Regions from separate parts of the Homo sapiens genome. Here region 2 is linked to region 1. The links are contacts of gene promoters, found by promoter capture Hi-C in blood cells and fetal thymus (Javierre and others, 2016). All regions are on one chromosome and are shown on one strand. The core of a region is centred on a gene start or on the middle of the fragment in contact, and the rest is flanking DNA. Distances in the headings are between cores, read along the strand shown. Region 1 holds the start of LINC01588 (long intergenic non-protein coding RNA 1588). Region 2 has its middle 17 kb from the start of ARF6.

Evidence for each region. Contacts are between HindIII fragments. The CHiCAGO score rates a contact against its expected background, and 5 or more counts as called.
Region 2: a fragment that was not itself captured here is called in contact with the fragment with the promoter of LINC01588 in region 1 in 16 of 17 cell types (activated CD4 T cells, M0 macrophages, non-activated CD4 T cells and 13 more); the score reaches 33.8 in activated CD4 T cells.

The regions. Positions count from the first base shown.
Region 1 is chr14:50,006,173-50,008,872 of GRCh38, reverse strand. LINC01588 (long intergenic non-protein coding RNA 1588) reads left to right here and starts at 1,353. Exons shown (of 4, transcript NR_126498.1): 1 at 1,353-2,700. LINC01599 (long intergenic non-protein coding RNA 1599) reads left to right here. Exons shown (of 9, transcript NR_131171.1): 9 at 1,454-1,560. The HindIII fragment of the contact is 14,705 bases long and covers 1-2,700 here.
Region 2 is chr14:49,908,840-49,911,539 of GRCh38, reverse strand. No RefSeq gene overlaps it. Among named protein-coding and RNA genes, the nearest start is that of ARF6, 17 kb to the right of the region's middle. The HindIII fragment of the contact is 4,514 bases long and covers 1-2,700 here.

The DNA.
Region 1 (2,700 bases), core at 104-2,603:
GGAAGAGAAACCAGAAGAGGGAGGTGAGGATGGAGCCTCTAAGGGCAAGAATGCATTCTTTTTTTTTTTTTTGAAATTTTGTTTTCGTTTGAGACAGGGTCTCACTCTGTCACCCAAGATAGAGTGCAGTGGCACAATCACAGCCCACTGCAGCCTCAACCTCCCTGGGTTCAGGCAATCCTCCCACTGCAGCAACCTCCCCAGTAGCTGGGACTACAGGTGCATCCTCATGCCTGGCTAATTTTTGTGGTTTTTTTTTTTTTTTTTTTTAGAGATGGCGTTTTGCCATGGTGCCCAGGCTGGTCTCAAACTCCCAGGCTCAAGTGACCCACCCACCTTGGCCTCCCTAAGTGCTGGGATTACAGGCATAATCATGGCACCCAACTGAGCGCTGCAAGGGTCTTTTCCAAGCTGAGTGCTGTAAGGGTCTGGGTTAGGCAAGGAAGACACTAAGGGTGTGGCCACTTGCTGTACAGTGGAGCAGGGGCCTTAGAACTACATAGAAGAATGCAAGCAAGCTCCCCCTTTCTCTGGAGAAACAGCATCTCTATTTTCCAAGCATACATGCTATACCAGCATCCTTGGAAAGATGATCAAATAAAAGACAGACAGTGTGTCTGCTTGCAAGATATACAGAAATGTGGCCAGGCACGGTGGCTCATGCCTGTAATCCCAGCACTTTGGGAGGCTGAGGCGGGCAGATCACGAGGTCAAGAGATTAAGACCATCCTGGCCAACATGGTGAAACCCCATCTCTACTAAAAATTAAAATATTAGCTGGGCGTGGTGGCATGCACCTGTAGTCCCAGCTACTCGGGAGGCTGAGGCAGGAGAATCGCTTGAACCCATGAGGCGGAGGTTGCAGTGAGCCGATCATGCCACTGCACTCCAGCCTGGTGACAGAGCGAAACTCCATCTCAAAAAAAAAAAAAAAGGAAATATATAGAAGAATGCCTTCTGAATAATCATTTCTTTTTTGAAATTGTGGCAAAATCTCCCTGGACTCAAGGGATGGGTGTAAAAAGCAGTTAGGCAGAGGATGAGGGCCTGTGCCTGAGGCGTCCAAGGGCAGCCCCAGCTCCCTGCAGATCCAGTGCAGCGGGATGTGCAGGTAGATCTCCCTCCCCAGGGCACAAAGCTGGGTGGGGAACAGCTGTCAGAACCAGCCACACCCCACCCCACCCTGCCCAGGCATCAGAAACCTCAGGGAAATGCCTAGATACTCCACCTCAAGGAAAACATTGAGGCCCTGTAGCCAGGAGTGCCCTGTTTGTGTCTAAAAGTTGCCCCAGCCCAAATTTACAGCTGGGAGGATCAGAAGGGCAATCTCTGTCTTCTCCCAAAAGGAAATCATACCCATAGTTACCACTGGGAGCAGGGTGGGCCGTTTACACTCCTCATCCTACCTCGCCATCACCTTAGGAAGCAGCCATTCTCCTTGTCTTTACTGTAGAGGAGGAAGCCTGGACAGCCTGCAGTTGAGGGGACCTGCACAAGCTCACAGGACTCTTCATCACCATGACACCACGCTCACCGCAAAATAAAAATGATCAAACCTGTCATGATGTCAGCAGCACCGGTGTTGGTCTTTGTGGGAAAGAAAAACACAGGCCAGGGCTGCAGCACGATTGTGTCTGCCCAGCTCTTGCAGCCTGGAGAACACCGTTGGATTCCCTCCCACACATGCTCCCAGGCTGCCTGCCTGCCTCACTTACCTGCTCAGGGTGGGGCTTGAGGGTGGCCCCTGGGAAGAGTAAGAACTGGCCAAGACTGAGATGTCCTTCCCTCATTTAAGGTACCGCCTTTTCCCTTTTCCCGCCATCCTGGGTGCATGGATACTTGGGATTAGAAACTGGACTGGAAATGTAATCTTTCTTCGGTTTGGGGCTGAGAACTGGGGATTAGTAGGATTTTGAGTTTATGGCACAGCCTTTTCTTACACCATTTCCTAAAAAGCAGTTAAGATTACACCAGGCACAGTGGCTTACGCCTATAATCTCAGCACTTTGGGAGGCTGAGGCAGGTGGATCAAGACCAGCTTAACCAACATGGTGAAACCCCATCTCTACTAAAAATACAAAAATTAGCTGGGCGTGGTGGCACGCATTTGTAGTCCCGGCTACTTGGGAGGCTGAGGCAGGAGAATTCCTTGAACCCGGGAGGCGGAGGTTGCGGTGAGCTGAGATTGCACCATTGCACTCCAGCAGCCTGGGCAACAGCAACGAAACTCCGTCTCAAAAAAAAAAAAAAATTACAGTCATCTCCCAGAAAAATCAAGAAGGAAGAACCTTGGAGGTTCAACCTATAGAAGATATGTTCTCATGGAATAAACCAAAAATAATTTTTATTTTCTAAAAAATCAAGAACAGAAGTCTCTCAACATTTAAGTTTTACAAACAAATAGAATCTGAGCCACTGGGTTAAACATGACAAACGACACACAGTAACAAATATTGAAGACATCATAATGCCAAAGCAACAGAAGCAGCACCAGAAATGTTGCTGAGGCCACCATTTAATTAACGCAAGTTGAACATATGGCTTTGGTTACATGTGGTTCCAGGCCAGAGGCATGGAAGTCAGTGTTTGTGGGAAAGCCAGGAGGAAAAGCTCCTCTCCCCACCTCCACCTTGTCACTCCAGGTTCTGGTGACCCCATCTCGGGACACGGCCTCCCATTTCACTCCTGCACCAACCCCAC
Region 2 (2,700 bases), core at 178-2,677, 97 kb after region 1:
TGTGTGTGTGTATATATATATATATATATATATATTTTTTTTTTTTTTTTTTTTTTTGAGATGGAGTCTCACTCTGTCACCCAGGCTGGAGTGTAGCAGCGCAATCTTGGCTCACTGCAACATCGGCCTCCTGGGTTCAGGTGATTCTCCTGCCTCAGCCTCCCGAGTAGCTGGGACTACAGGCGCCCACCACTGTGCCCAGCTAATTTTTGTATTTTTAGTAGAGATGGGGTATCATCATGTTGGCCAGGCTGGGCTCGAACTCCTGACCTCAAGTGATCCGCCCGCCTCAGCCTCCCAAAGTGCTGGGATTATAGGGATGAGCCACCGCTCCTGGCCTGCTTTTATTTTTTTATCCAAGATTCAGAGGGTACGGGCACAGGTTTGTTACATGGGTATATTGCATGATGCTGAGGTTTAGGCCTCTAATGATCCCATCATCCAAGTAGTGAACACAAGTAGTTCTTCAAACCTGGCCCCCCTTCCTCTCTTCTGCCTTTTTGAATCCCCAATGCCTACTGTTCCCATCTTTGTGTCTGTGTGTACCCAGTGTTTAGCTCCCACTTATAAGTAAGAATGTGCGGCATTAGGTTTTCTGTTTCTGTGTTAATTCGCTTAGGATAATGGCCTCCAACTGCATCCTTGTTGCTGCAAAGGACATAATTTCATTCTTTTTTATGGCTGCATGATTTAATTTTTTAAATTATTAAACTAGAGGGAAGAAGGAAAATAGAACTAATTTCTCTTGAGTGCTTACCATGCCAGATAGGGACTTTCTCATAAGTTACCACTTTTTGTGATAAAGCCTTGCTGGGTGAACATTACCATCCCGATTTTTAGCAGGAAAACTGAGACAAAGAGATAGATTTTCCAGTGTCACTTAGCTATTGAGGTCAGGGTTGGAATTCAAACATAGGTCTATCTATTTGAGACTATTGACTCAAAATTCAATGTTCTTTACCCAAATCAATCCTGTCAGAAAGGAAACTAAAAATGCTTGCAAAAAAAAAAAAAAAAAAAAAGGTAGGAAGGGCTGGACACAATGTCTCATGCCTGTAATCCCAGCGCTTTGGAAGGCTGAGGCAGGTGGATCACCTGAGGTCAGGAGTTCAAGACCAGCCTGGCAAACATGGCAAAACCCCATCTCTACTAAAAATACAAAAATCAGCTAAGTGTGGTGGCACACACCTGTAATCCAAGGTACTCAGGAGGCTAAGGCAGGAGAATCCCTTGAACCCAGGAGGCGGAGGTTGCAGAGAGCCACAAAGATCCCGCGACTGCCCTCCAGCCTGGATGATAGAGTGAAACTCCATCTCAAAAAAAAAAGATAAGTATCATATATGGCTTATATGAGGAAAGGAGGTTCTCTTCCATCTTCAATCCTTTTTCCATTCAATGAATGGCCTTCATAGCATCATACATAGGATGTTTCCAGATCCTAATTTCTTGGGTATTTCTAACACTGTAATCCAGAATCCAGAAATCACAATTTCCTAAATCACTATTTTGATGCTCAGCAAAGCAGCATGGACCCTGAGGTGTATCAGTGGGTAACACTTTAGGTTTTATTAGATTGGGACATGCAGCAAGAAAAAGAACCTAGAAATTACCATAGGTTTGAAAGGAGAAAAATTAACATGTCTAGGATGTCTAAGCATATGGAAACAATAGCCCTGCCAACCATATTGATTGATTGATTGATTGATTGATTGATTGTTTAAAAAGAGATGTGGTCTAGCTGGGTGTGGTGGCTCACACCTGTAATCCCAGCGCTTTGGGAGGCCGAGGTGGGTGGTTCACTTGAGCCTCAGGAGTTCGAGACGAGCCTGGCCAACATGGCAAAACCTCATCTCTATTGAAAAAAAGAAAAAAAAAACAGACATGGTCTCACTATATTGCCCAGGTGGGTCTCAAACTCTTGGCCTCAAGCAATCCTTCCATCTTGGCTTCCCAAAGTACTGGGATTACAGGTGTGAACCACCACTCTTGACCAGAAGGCAATTTAGAAATGTTGTCATGCTAGTCTAAAATCCATACTGTATTCAACAAGATACCCAAGAAATAATAAAAGAAAAAGATATATTAGTATTTATTTAAAACATTTCCCCTAAGATACCACTACCATATTATTATACTAAGCAAAAAAAATAAAAAATAAAAATGTAATGTTTTAGTCTTTAATTCAAGTTTGTCTTGATGACAAAAACAGGATTTAAGATACTTCAGTAAGTTTCTAAATATTAGGTTCTTGTGTAAAATGCATTTACTGTCATAAATCAAGTATTACTCATGAGTTGGAGAGAATTAAAAATGCAATCCAATCTTATAAAAAGAGTCCAAGTCATAAAGACAAGCAATCAATCATAAAAGGTCAAGAATTTTTTATATAATATGCCAGCGTTTACCTTGAGAGACCTATCTATGTTTACCTACAGACTTGATCATTAGTTACATTTGAGATTTTTTTTTTTTTTTGAGACGGAGTCTCACTCTGTTGCCCAGGCTGGAGCACAGTGGCGCGATCTCGGCTCACTGAAAGCTCCGCCTCCAGGGTTCACACCATTCTCCTGCCTCAGCCTCCTGAGTAGCTGGGACTACAGGCGCCCGCCACCACGCCCGGCTAATTTTTTTTTGTATTTTCAGTAGAGACAGGGTTTCACCGTGTTAGCCAGGATGGTCTCGATCTCCTAACCTCATGAT